Linked DNA regions of Homo sapiens: region 2 is linked to region 1. The links are contacts of gene promoters, found by promoter capture Hi-C in blood cells and fetal thymus (Javierre and others, 2016). All regions are on one chromosome and are shown on one strand. The core of a region is centred on a gene start or on the middle of the fragment in contact, and the rest is flanking DNA. Distances in the headings are between cores, read along the strand shown. Region 1 holds the start of AP4E1 (adaptor related protein complex 4 subunit epsilon 1). Region 2 overlaps SHC4 (SHC adaptor protein 4).

Region 1 (7,052 bases), core at 2,118-4,617:
GATTAACTGTCTTTTAAAACTGTAACAGCATTTATCTAAACGGAAAAATATAATTTACAATACTTTTAATTTAAAAGAAACATTATTTTAAAGGAGAGTTACAAATACTATCTGCTTACGATCTATCTAAAGGCATTTCTCCAAACCTCAGAACCATCCCTGGAGAGAATAAATATTTCCAGGCTAACCCATCCTTCCTCTTTTCTTTACTCAGTTACTTCCCCTTAATGGTAGAATAGCAGAAAATGTTTTTTTTTAAAACTAAAGGTGGAAGCCGGGCACAACAGCTCATGCCTGTAATCCCAGCACTTTGGGAGGCCAAGGCGAGTGAATCACTTGAGGTCAGCAGTTTGAGACCAGCCTGGCCAACATGGCAAAACCCCGTCCCTACTAAAAATACAAACATTAGCTGGGGGTCCTGTAATCCCAGATACTCGAGAGGCTGAGGCAGGGGCAGGAGAATCGCTTGAACCCGGGAAGTGAATGTTGCAGTGAGCCGAGATCGTACCACTGCACTCCAGCCTGGGTAACAGAGCAAGACTCCATCTAAAAAAAAAAAAAAAAAAAAAATTAAAGGTGGAGAGAGAGTAGAAATTCTCCATGTATTGGCCCAAGAAAAGAGTCTCATCTCACATCTTCCCCTTAGAAGTAAAAAGTCTTCATGGAATTAAGAAACAGGGTAAGAAAGCAGAAACAGAAATAGGTCTTTTTCCCTTAAACTACATTCTTCTTCCCTGTCTTTTCCTCATTCCCCAAATCCTTTCCATAACTTCCTATCTCAGACACATACCAATGTGGTCACTCCTACTGTCTGCATTGTATGTTATCTCCCTAAGCACTTAAAAAATTGGCCCCATTTTTTTTTGGCTAATATCATGCTACCTTTAAATTACACACTGAATTACATGTTCATCAGATGGCTATTCAAAAGCCACTAGTGACGTACTGATACACGTGGATGCCTATCTACAGTTTCAAACTGCTATTTAAGACCAAAAATAACTTTTTAAAAAATTTTATTGAGGATCCCTTAAAAATTAGCAAAGGACAAAAACCTTAAGAAAAACAACATTATTAAGGCCACAAATGGCCAGGCGTGGTGGCTCACGCCTGTAATCCCAGCACTTTGGGAGGCCAAGGCCAAGGCAGGTGGATTACCTGAGGTCAGGAGTTCAAGACCAGCCTGGCCAACATGGCGAAACCCTGTCTCTACTAAAAATATAAAAATTAGCCGGGTATGGTGACGTGTGCCTGTAATCCCAGCTACCAGGGAGGCTGAGGCAGAAGAATCACTTGAACCCAGGAAGCAGAAGTTGCAGTGAGCCAAGATTGCACCACTGCATTCCAGCCTGGGCGACAGAGTGAGACTCCATCTCAAAAACAAAACAAAACAAGACAAGCCCACAAGTAATGATTCTGGAATGTGAAGCAGGTTCTCTCCGGATAGCATCAACTTATTAGAGCTGCCAAAAAAATATTTTTTTTAAACCTTCAGAGCACTTTCTTTTCTGTCTTTCCTTCTCTTTTAGCACTTCTATTGCATTGTAGTCATGCTTATACTTGTCTTAAGCCCAAAACGAATGACTAATTCCTTGGGAAAAGGGAATGTGTTTAATTCTATTTTCCTGTGTCTAACACATAACCTTGTTCCATAAACATCTGTTGAACAAATAATGACATTAACACGTGCTCTTTTTAAGATATAAACTCCTTGTAGCTGTGAATCGGTATACTACACAATCCGTGCAACCATCGAGCGCCTGTGGGGGCCCGGCGCGGTGGCTCATGCCTGTAATCCCAGCACTTTGGGAGGCCGAAGTGAGCGAACACTTGAGGTCAGTTCAAGACCAGCCTGCCCAACATGGTGAAATCCTGTCTCTACTAAAAATACAAAAATTAGCCGGGCGTAGTGGCATACGCCTATAATCCCAGCTACTTGGGAGGCTGAGGCAGGAGAATCGCTTGAACCCGGGAGGCAGACGCTCCAGTGAGCCAAGATCGCACCATCGCACTCCAGCCTGGGCGACAGAGCGAGACTCCGTCATTAAAAATTTAAAAATTTTAAGGCCGGGCAGGGTAGCTCACGCACGTAATCCCAACACTTTGGGACGCCAAGGCGGGCGGATCGCGAGGTCAGGAGATCGAGACCATCCTCGCTAACACGGTGAAACCCCGTCTCTACGAAAAGTACAAAAAATTAGCCAGGCAGTGGCGGGCACTTGTAGTCCCAGCTACTCGGGAAGCTGAGGCAGGAGAATGGCGTGAACCCGGAAGGCGGAGCTTGTAGTGAGCCCAGATCGCGCCACTGCACTCCAGCCTGCGCGACAGAGCGAGACTCCGTCTCAAAAAAAAACAAAAATTAAAATTTTTAAAACCTTAAGGCTCCAGCGAGCCGAGATCGAGATCGCACCATTGCACTCCAGCCTGGGCGACAGAGAGAGACTCCGTCAATAAAAATTTAAAAATTTTAAAAGTTTAAGAATTTTTATAACTGCTCATTTTCAAAGCCCACTTGAGGCAGAGACTTAGCAAATTTTACATTTTGAGAGAACTGTGCTTTTTCTTTGCCCAACACGTTGTTGTAACCCAAGAACCTCAAGCTCCCCAAAGATATTCAACAAGAGGCTCACAGGATCTCTTCAGGTATGCGACATCTGAACTGTTGTTCAGTTGAAGGCACCGGGGGAGAGAAGGAAACTGAGTAGGGAAAAAAAACTTTGTGGAAGGTAAATAATGTCTGACACTTCCATCGCACTAGGTATTTTCACACGCTTGACATCTCACCCAATCCTCAAAACAAACAAAAAACCTATGAATTATGTATCAGTACTTTTCCACCACAACGTTGAGAAAACACACGGAGGCTCAGAGGTTACAGAGATGTGCCCCCGATCAAAGAGTCAGTGTCAGAACTAACTGTGGAAACTCGGCTTCCCTGCTGTCAGTCCCAGCAGGAAAGTGAAGCTTCCAGGCAGACGAAAGGACGAACCGACACAGCAGCCCCTGAGCCCCGCCGGAGGGCTAACCCCAGAGGCCCTGAAGTCTCGCCGCCCGGCCAGGGCCTCCTGGCGCGGGGGCCTCACTCCGATGTCCCTGAGCTCCCGGGCCGGCGGGCACCTACGTGCTTGGAGGTGAGGGCTGTGATGCCGCGGACAAGGCTGCCCAGCCTCGAGGAGAAGGACGCCTTGGCGGCCGCGGGCCCACCACCGGGCTGGTTCTGCAGAAAGAGTCCCGGCAGCGCCGTCAGCGTCTTCTCCACTATGTCGCTCATCGCCGCCGCCGCCCGCGATGCCGCCGCCGCCCGCGATCCCGTAGCCGCCCGGCTTCATGCCCGGCCGCCGCTGCCGGCCCGGCCTCCGTAGGCACTTCCTGTTTTTTGAATAAGAAATCTTTATTGGCGTCCCACCTGAACAAGTTCAGCGTCGTTCTCGCGAGAGGCCACCAGAGGGCGCAAGAGACCGCGGGGGTGGAAAAGGCCGCTCGCTCGAGATTGCGCGCGTAAGTAGACCTCCTTTCTCGCGACGGGGTAGCGGTTCCGGAATCCCCCAGAACCGTGAGTCCTCCTGAGGAAGCCGTCGGGGGCCTGGCCCTGTTAGGCACTGTCTCCCAGAGTCCCCCTTTCCCACTAGCCGCCTCCGCGTAGCCCGAGACCGCGTCAGGAGTTGCGTCTTCCTGGCTGCGCCTTTTTCGGGACGTCCCCGCGCCGTCCGCCGCCTCTCACTGTCCCCGGAGCGCGCGCCACCCGCCCGCTTCCCACAGGCGGTTTCACGCGGGTCCCCGGCGCCGCGCGCGGCTCCGGCCCTGGCGACTCTTGGGACACCCGAGTAGTTGCGTGATAGCGGGGCTGTCCTGAGGATTCGGCGTGCCAGGTTGAGAGCCCGTCGCGTGCCGGGGACTCGCGGCCACTGTCGCTTCCCGTCCGCCCCTCTTCTCCTGGGATTTGGGGAGGTGGGCGGGAAAGAGAACTGGTCGGCGGCCACCCTTGCCGACTCCTCCTCAGCAGGTCGCAGTTGAAAGGTCATCCTTCTAGAGCCCACTCCCCTGGCCCGGCGGGCAAGGATAGGTCTCCAAGTCCCACCCTCTCACAGCGCTCGGTTCTGTTCCACTTTAGAACAGGTCGCAGTTGCCACTACGTAAACAGCTCCCCATAGAGAGAGTATTTTATTCATTCCGATTGCTCCGTCTTTTATCTAGAACAGAGTCTGGTACAATGGCTCTCGAAATGTGGTCTGGTGACCTCAGGGTCGCTGAGACCCTTCTAGGGAATTCACAAAGTCAAAACAACATTGATAACGTTTCTTACGTGTTATTTGCCGTTTTTACCCTCATTCTGTTGGAAATGTACAGAGTTTTCAAGCGGCTAGATGACGATTGACTAGCTGGTAAAATGTATCCTGGAGTATCCTTGTGTTTTCTAGAATTTTCTAAGGTAGTAGGTTTAGGGCATAAATACGTGCGTTTTCAGAGATTAATGCAATTTGCTCTCAGTACTCCTAGTGTGTTTCTAGGAGGTAGGTTAGGTAGGTGGTGATAGCCTCCCTTCAAGGGGAACAAACTTGCTAAATAAATAGAACAAACCAGCCCATAGTGTACAAACCACATCCGAGGCTCCTGGTTAGAAAATTTTGCAGCAAAGAGGTACGAGAGCAGAAGGGAAAATCCCCAAACTCTCACAAGCGCAGAAACCCATGATCAGTGTCGTTGGGCTGAATTATACTCATTATAATAGTAAAAAAAAAAAAAAAAAAAAAACACCACTCCTGGGTGAAGATTTAAGATACTAATAAGACATGCAGTGTATGTACTAGCATATACAACCACAGCGCACATGGCGACAGAAAACCAGAGAACGTGCTTAATAGCAGCACCCGTTCTCCCCGCTTCATGAATGATCCTGTGAGACTCCTACAAAGGGAGTTTCCCCAGTGTCAGTGCATGCTGTCTCACCTTTGAGCAGCCCGCTCTGATCAGCTGTGAGGGTGTACTTTCGCTTTGCAATAAACTCTTTTGCTTGCTTTTACTTTGGACTTCAAAATTATTTTGCACCGCGAAGTCCAGAACCTCAACCGGCCCACCAGCTACAGCTACACTTACAAGCTATCTTCGGTTATACCTGCTCTAATCTCTGTAACCTCCTTGTCACCTAATAAATGAGTTTTTTTGAAATCCTGAAGTTGTTTTAATACCTATATGGGAACATAAGAAAAAAGTTCAATTTGTTGGCTTGTCTCGCAAGAATATTTTTTAATATATTGAGAACATTTTAAAATATTTAAACTTTATCTAAAAGGGATACTCATTTATTCATTTAATTTTTTTTTTTTCAGAGTCTCGCTCTATCACCCAGACTGGAATGCAGTGGCACAATCTGGGTTCACTGCAGCCTCCTCCCCCTGGGTTCAAGCAATTCTCCTGCCTCAGCCTCCCGAGTAGCTGGGATTACAGGCGCCCGCCACCATGCCCGGCTAATTTTTGTATTTTTAGTAAACACAGAGTTTCACCATTTTGGCCAGGCTGGTCTCGAACTCCTGACCTCAGGTGATCCGCCCACCTCAGCCTCCCAAAGTGCTGGGATTACAAGCGCGAGCCACTGCGCCCAGCCAGAAAGGGATACTCTTTTAGAATTTAATTTTGTTATTTTATTATTATTTTTTGAGATGGTGTCTCGCTCTGTTGCCCAGGATGGAGTGCAGTGGTGTGATCTCGGCCCACTGCAACCTCCGCCTCCCAGGTTCAAGCAGTTCTCCTGCCTCAGCCTCCCGAGTAGCTGGGATTACAGGTGCGTGCCACCACACCCGGCTAATTTTTTGTATTTTTAGTAGAGATGTGGTTTCACCACGTTGGCCAGGATGGCCTCGGTCTCCTGACCTCATGATCTGCCCGCCTCAGCCACTCAAAGTGCTGGGATTACAGGTGTGAGCCACCACGCCCTGCCTAGAATTTAATATTTTGTCGTCCGGGCGCGGTGGTTTATGCCTATATTCTAGCACTTTGGGAGGCCAAGGCGGGCAGATTGTCTGAGCTCAGGAGTTCCAGACCAACCTGGCCAACATGGTGAAACCCCGTCTCTACTAAAAATACAAAATATTCGGACAGGCACGGTGGCTCCCACCTGTAATCACAGCACTTTGGGAGGCCAAGGTGCACAGACCACAAGGTCAGGATATCAAGACCAGCCTGGCCAACCTATGACTCTACTAAAAAAATACAGAAATTAGCCGGGCATGGTGGCGTGCGCCCGTAATCCCAGCTACTCGGGAGGCTGAGGCAGGAGAATTGCTGGGACCCGGGAGGCGGAGGTTGCAGTGAGCCGAGATTTCACCACTGCACTCCAGCGTGGGCGACAGAGCAAGACTCCACCTCAAAAAAAAAAAAATACAAAAAATTTAGCCGGGCATGGTGGCACACCTGTAGTCCCAACTACTTGGGAAGCTGAGGCAGGAGAATTGCTTGAACCTAGGAGGCGAAGGTTGCAGTGAGCCAAGATCGCACCACTGTACTCCAGCCTGGGTGACAGAGCAAGACTCTGTCTCCAAAAAAAAAAGGAATTTAATATTTTATCTTTAAATTAAATTTTGTTTTATGTATAGTTTTTTAATTTTAGGTTCTTCCATTGGCTTAAAAAGGGGATACTAGAAGATTCGCTTTCTAACCTTCCCGTCTGTAAAGATGCCGAAAAAGATGAAGCTGACATCAGTATCAGAATTCACTGACTCAGGGAAAGGGAGAAATCTGGTCGAAACTATAAATAACAAAGGAAAGTATGACAAAAGCTTCTTTCTTTCCCTTGGCATTAGAGATGTTAATCACTTGCCTTATTTTATGTCATTCAACAGAACATTTTCAAATACTATTATGGTGCCAATCAAGTTGAGGCATCATTTTCAGACCAGTCAGAATTTAAAAGAAAGGGAATTTAATACTTTCAACATAGAGATGATATGCTTTATAAAAGCCAAAGCTTTTGTATTACCATTTTCAAAGTAAAAATGAAAAACCTACTGAAGCATCTTACACATGAAATTATTATATTTCATTGATAGGAGAAGGAC
Region 2 (7,052 bases), core at 2,983-5,482, 2.0 Mb after region 1:
TTCTTAGCTTTAGCAATGTGGTTAGCCACTAAGAATGATGCTCTCAGTGCAAACACATCTGATGAAGTGGTGGCCTTCAATAATTTCTTCTATTCTTTGTGTTCACATTGTTTTCTTTTGAAAAACTCCAAAGGCTTAGTATTAATGCAGGGTGTGTGGTCTCCATGTGACAAAGCAGTTTAGAAGGCTTCATGGCTTTGTTAGATAGCCACTTGCTACATGTTATGCAAAGCAAGCTTGGATAATGTGAATCACCTGTTGTAATGAACTGGTATTTTAAGTAGGACTCTTGATATTTTCTTTTAAATGCAGCTTTATTTTTGTTGGCAGTCTTAAAGTCTTCTGCAGTCTCATCACTGGATCTTTCCCCCTTTTCAAAGAACCTCTCCAGTGAAGTTTGTTTTTTACTCATTTTGGCTAGGGTTAGCTTATGGGCTTACCAAAACTGTGACCGAGAAAGTGCATGGTGCAGGAAAGAGACATGGATGGGAGTGGTAAATAAAATAATGGGCGGGTCAGGAACAAACTAAAATAGTCGGATTCAGACTTAAAGCCTGCCATCAGCTGCAGCTGTACAACTGAAGTACATCAACTCACTTGCCACTATGTAGCCTGCCACCAGATGCAACTTAAGTGTCACTTGCTACTTACCGATAGGGTTTTGATATGAGTCTGCAAGCAATTGATTTATTATGGTCTCTGTGCAGTCAAACCTCTCTGCTATTGTTAATCTGTATTTGCAGCCACTCCCCAGCACTAGCGTCACCACCTCAGCTCTACCTCAGGTCATCAAGCATTAGATTCTCATAAGGAGCATGCAACCTAGATCCCTCGTATGTGTAGTTCACAATAGGGTTCATTCTCCTATGAGAATCTAATGTCGCCACTGATCTGACAGGAGGCAGAACTCAGACAGTAATGTGAGCAACGGGGAGCAGCAGTACATACACATGAAGCTTCTCTTGCTCATCCACTGCTCACCTCCTCTGCAGCCCGGTTCCTAACAGGCCACGGACTGGTACTTGGTCTCTGGCCAGGGGAGTCGGGAGCCCCTGCTCTAGTTCTTCTCACCATGGACACATGATTTCTGGCTGACTGCTGCTTGGTGTCAGATTTATCATAGACTAAAAGTTCTTAAATACATGAGTCTATTTTTAGACTTTGAATTCTTGTGACATTTTTACAGTTTTATATCTTGCTGTTTGATCAGGAATATTTTGTCTTTGTTCTTTAAAAAACTGCGCTAACTCTTCTTGTGCATTTATTCTTTCATATGAATTTAGGAGCATCTTGAATGTGATATTATAATATTTCTTATTATCTTATAAGGGAATTCTTATGCATTTGTTCTTTTAAAATTTGCTTTAGCTGTTCTTGCACATTTATTCTTCCATATGAATTTTAGAAGCATTTTTATTGGAATTGCATGGAATTTATAAATTAATCTGGGGTAGGATTGACACCTTTGTAATACCATCTTCTCATCCATGAGAGTGATATATATCTTTCTACTTGTTCAGATCTTATTTATACTCTTCAGTGAAGTTTTCCAAAAAGCATTACATGATTCTTATTAGTTTTGTACTAAAGTACTCTTACAAAGTGTACCTTTCTCCCCAAAATACAGTGTCTAATTGGCTATTTTTCTGTTTTTTTTTTTGAGACGGAGTCTCGCTCTGTAGCCCAGGCTGGAGTGCAGTGGCATGATCTCAGCTCACTGCAAGCTCCGCCTCCCGGGTTCACACCATTCTCCTGCCTCAGACTCCTGAGTAGCGGGGACTACAGGTGCCCACCACGCCCAGCTAATTTTTTGTATTTTTAGTAGAGATGGGGTTTCACTGTGTTAGCTAGGATGGTCTCAATCTCCTGACCTCATGATCCGCCCGCCACGGCCTCCCAAAGGGTTGGGATTACAGGCGTGAGCCACTGCGCCCGGCCGACTATTGTTGATATATGGGAATGACATTGATCTTTGTATATTGACTTTGTTTTTACTGAAATATAAATGTAGACAAGTACACAGATAATAAGTCCGTAATAATTATCACAAAATGAACAGTTGTATAACCAATATTCAGATCAAGAAACTCCAGCAATCCCAGAAAATCTTTTGCCCCTTCTTCCTGTGCTCCAGAAATAACCACTGTTCTGATTTCAAATACCATAATTTTGCCTAGTTTTGAACTTCATATAAATTAAGCCATGCAGTATATTCTTTGTGTTAGACTTCTTTTGCTCAGCAAACATGTTGCTGCTATATAGTATGCCACCATTGAATATTACAATAGTCATCATTGGAATTGTTTCCAATTTAGGGCTGTTATGAACAGGGCAGTTATTGTCTTCTTTGAGAATATTTTTTGTTGCACATATTTACACAATTGTGTTGGATATACGTCTAGGAATAAAATTGCTGGTCATCTTATATAATCAGCTTTGGTAGATTCTGTCACACAATTTTGAAAGCAGGATTAGTCAATAGGTGCATAGTTGGTGTTTTAATGAACCTTCAAAATAGCATGACAGATATGTCTCTGCAAATGGTCATTACACTGTGGTTTGCAAACAAGCAATCCTAGACTCTCAAATAGAAGACAATCTTCTTAGCTAATTAATGTGGTTACTTGGCGATTCTTACTCATATTAGAAGTCCTAATGTTAGTGCCTTACTCAGGATACATTTAGTAGTGAATGACTGAAATCAAATTCAAACTAACTTTTGCAAAAAGAAACAAAAATATAAAGGGAGAGGGTGAAATATATTGGTTAAAGTGATGGAACAAATGTTACCACCAGACTTTTTTCCTATTTTTAGTTCTCAGTTCCGATTTTCATCAGAAGAAAAGCTTCATATTCCAGCAGACTTTTCTCACATGGCAGCATAATATGGCCCCTAGAAGCTTTGGGCTTACATAGTTTTTAATGGCAGAGAGAGATGCTTTCTCTCCTATTATTCATTTCAGTTCTTCCCAAAATACATTGATTGGCTCTGCTGTATCCAGAGAGATGGTATTTTCTGATTGGCTAGCCCTAGATAATGTTCCACCTGGGTGGGCAAGGGCAGTGAGATGGGCATCACAAAATCATCAGAATCTCGTGGTTTAAATGAGATTATTATAGAGTGTAGGTTGGGTGGTTTTCAAAGGGATGCTGATCAGGCAAAAACAAAACAAACAAATGTATGTCTATTACTGTTAGACTGTATATAACTAGAAATAACAATTAATTTATATTAGTATACATGTTTATGTTTTTCAGATTATTGCAAATCATCATATGCAGTCTATTTCATTTGCCTCTGGAGGGGATCCTGTAAGTATGGATTCACAGAAGTTCTTTTTATGAGTTAAAATAACTTCTTGACATTTGGGGCTGGATGATAATAAAATAAAATAACTTTTACATAAACCATATTAGCCACTACATGTCTTTTCCTAACATACTATTACAGTCTGTGAATAGCTACATGTAGCAGATAATAAAATATTTTCTTTAGGCAAACATTTCCTATTATTAAATTTTAAAATACTTGGATTAGTAGATGAGCTAGTAGTGCTCCATTGTGTTATTAGCCATGGAGTTATCATCTAATAAGCTTCTTGTTGATAATATCTAGGTCATGAAAAGCAAGTATGTCATACATGTGTTGCTCAATCCTTCCTTAGAATTCTTCTCAACACAGAGTTTCTGGAACACTTTACTAATCAACTGGACTTGATATATCAACCAAGTCAACTAAGTCTAATCTGGAATGAGCAACCAGGTTTGCAGGAACTCATGGAGGAAATGCTGAGCTGGGGAGAGAGAACTTGTAGTTCTTCTCTACCAAGATGGGGTCATGTGATACTCACTTCCCAGAAATTGTACAGGATTTCTCCAAGCCTACTCTGCAGAATGGAGTGTCATTCCTTGACTCCCTACTGCACCATTTCTGGACCACAGCAAAAGGAGAGGGGCTTTGAAGCTAGGGAGCCTGCAACTGAGCAAGAAGCAAATCTGTTTAAACTGAGGGAGTAGAAGAATACTTTTGCCACTCTGTGACATTATTGGTCTTTTTATTGTACTCTTTCCTCTTCTAATCTTCCATATGTTTTGATGAAAGGTTAGAAGAGGATGGAGTATGACTTTCATAATGGTTAAACATCAGCCATGTCAAGAAAGCAGGGGGAACATACACAGACCTTGTTCTTACTCAGAATGTATTACCTTCTTTTCTGCAAAGCATTTTTTAAAGAAAAGATTATATCCTTCAGGAACGAACCAATACAATTCAGTTTAACCATTGATTGTTTTCTATCCACCACATTTAGTTTTCACCTGTAATTGAGGAATAAAATGTAGAGTCATAAATGATAGGACAATAACCTAGAAACCCAAGAAAGATATAGAGGATGCTAAAAACTAAATCTGGCAGCTGATACCATGGTAGTTTTCATTTGTTTTAAACTTTTTGCTAAATATTCAATGGGGGAGAAATAATTGTATATCCTAAAAGGAAGTAAAGTTCTGAAGTTACTCTGTAATCATTGCTTCATTTACTGGCATCTAAAGCATTTAAGCAGGTTCTTCCTCTTGGGTGTTGGTGTAACTTACCTGTGTATAAAATATATAGCTAAATTAGCCAATTCTTAAAAACACTTCAATAATTACTTGTCTTCACATTGGCTACCAATGACCTAAAGTATTTAAGCATGTCAAACCAAGACATGCTTTTTTTTTTTTTGAGACGGCGTCTCACTCTTGTCACTCAGGCTGGAGTGCAGTGGCACGATCTTGGCTCACGAAGCATATGGAAGAAAAGCAGCCTTTACAGGATTTCAAACCCTTGTTTTCTAATTAATGGATATCCAGTTTCCCCTTTAAGCTTTACTACTTCCTCATCTTTTAGCCTGGGGTATAGTTATTTTCAAATAACTATTATATATTAGTTCCATGATGCTGCCATTTTTAAAAGTAAACCAAATGTTAAGAGTTCCACCTTTTCCCCAAGAAATTCCACAGATGCCTAATTGTGAATTCCCATTAGCAAACAAGGGACATACAAGGTGTCTGGTGCTTAGCAGCTGCTATTTGAGCCCAAGAGCCTATCTGGACTCTTTTCCATCCAGCCTTGTAATCTGGCCTCAATAGCAACACCAAGGATGGTGGCTGGCAGGGAGGGTCAACTGAATCCAGGCTGAAAAATACCAGCACTTTCTCTTCTCCCTAGCTCAGTCATCCATGAAGGAACTCAAATACTTTTCTTAAGAGATTTAAAGTAGTGTTTATACATGTAGTGTGAAAAATAATTATTGGCATTTGCCCTAAATTTCTTAAGGGTTGTCATCATGTTAGAATTGGTGCGCAAACATTTACTCAAGGCATGCCCTGAATGATTTCTGTTATTGTTCTCCAGAATCTTAATTTTTTTCATACTCTCTTCATGTGCCTTTAGTTCTTTAAATTGACCAAACCACTGTTCCTATAAAAAACAAACATTAAATAATTTGTGGCCACTATGGGAAAGTTTGTACCTGCTGCATTGAGAGCACCTCTGTGCTCTCTAAAGCTGGTGAGAAAGCCTGTTGATTCTAATTTAAAGTAGAAATCTGGCGGCGGTGCCATGGCTTGGTTGGTTAAAGCACCTGTCTAGTAAAATAGAAGTCTGGAGCCACCCTAAGCATTGGCATTAGAAATCATCTCTATGAAGTTTTACCATCAGGTCAGGGAGGCAGTATTATGTACTGCCAGGCTTTGGAGTCAAGTAGACGTGACTTATTTAAACTCCCTAAACTCCAGAGTCCTCATATGTAAATGGAGGATAATCCCTATTGCCTGACAGTGTTGTGGGAATTAAGTGAAATGATACATGGTTAGTGTTAGCGCAGGTCCTGGCACACAGTCACAAGAAGTAACTACTACCACAATTGCTAACACATACCCATATTTGTTTTAGGATATTAACTGAGATCGTTTACAGCTTCACAGTGAACTGTGTACAAGGGTAGGAAGCTGACTTAAAAGTCCCTGAGGTCCAACATAGTAATCTTTCTACAAGATTTCCTCCAAAATTTCAAAAATAATGAATAGCCTTCTCATCTCTTGGCCTTTGCTCACCCTCATTTTTACTCTCTTTGCAAAAACAGTTGTTTTCCATCCGTCAGCCCTGAAAACAGTTGTTGGTAATGCCTCTATAACTATATATACTTTCTCCACTTAAAAAGTGCATTGTGAGTATGTCAAAAATTAAATACATTTAAACATATTTTCCCCTGCTATTTGTGCTTTACTTTTAGCATTCTGTAAATTCTCCCAAATGTTTACAGCTATAGAATTTTAGAACTATACCAATGTTGGAGGCTGTTTTGAAAATGAGAAAACTGAGGTCTGTAGAGGTCTCACAGCCTCTTTCCCATAATTGGACCTACCAGACAGCATGGCTGGCATCAGACCACCTCTTCACTTGAATAAGAGTGGCAAAGTCCCCAGCAATTGTGGCTTTCCTTCTAAATTCATATAAAACAAAGCCCAAGGATATGGCCTTATTTATTTAGAGGATATTTAAAACCTTTTTTCTTTTTGCGTAAGAGAAATTTACTCAGGTATGTGTTATTATTTTCTTTAATTGCCCAAGACGAGTTATGCTGACCCTGAGATCCACTTCCTGTGTGATTCATTGTGGGTTATTAAGTGATTATCCTTGAGGGTATTACAAACATGGGCTTTTATTTCCTGCCAGTTGATTGCATCTTCCCTCTAGAGAGTCATACTTCTAATCTGCAAATGGAATTGTGTGTATTTTTTCCCAAGAACTTAGATAACAAAAAGCATCTTTAATTATTAAAACCTTATCATTCATCAGCTTACTGTTTTCAATAAAAGCTGGAATTACCAAGTAGCGTTTTGTTGGTTTGTTTTTACGAAGTCAGCAGTGCATCTCTTTTTGAACTTCTTAAGTTTTTCAGGGGTTCTCTTTTTTTTAAAATGATTTTTCTTTTCTGTATATTGATCAAATAAATTCCTTGTATTTTCACTTTATTATCCCTTAAGTTAACTTACACTGCATACAAGCA

What was found. The method cuts DNA at HindIII sites, captures the fragments that hold promoters and counts their contacts. A CHiCAGO score of 5 or more calls a contact.
Region 2: a contact is called between a fragment that was not itself captured here and the fragment with the promoter of AP4E1 in region 1, in 1 of 17 cell types (total CD8 T cells). The highest score is 5.8, in total CD8 T cells.

The regions. Positions count from the first base shown.
Region 1 is chr15:50,904,998-50,912,049 of GRCh38, reverse strand. It overlaps AP4E1 (adaptor related protein complex 4 subunit epsilon 1), which reads right to left and starts at 3,367. Exons shown (of 21, transcript NM_007347.5): 1 at 3,122-3,367. The coding sequence starts at 3,271. RefSeq lists enhancers at 2,291-3,032, 3,079-3,248, 3,269-3,558, 3,033-3,774. The HindIII fragment of the contact is 3,809 bases long and covers 2,967-6,775 here.
Region 2 is chr15:48,868,349-48,875,400 of GRCh38, reverse strand. It overlaps SHC4 (SHC adaptor protein 4), which reads left to right. Exons shown (of 12, transcript NM_203349.4): 5 at 3,259-3,312. Among named protein-coding and RNA genes, the nearest start is that of EID1, 6.3 kb to the left of the region's middle. RefSeq lists a silencer at 757-1,078. The HindIII fragment of the contact is 1,269 bases long and covers 3,598-4,866 here.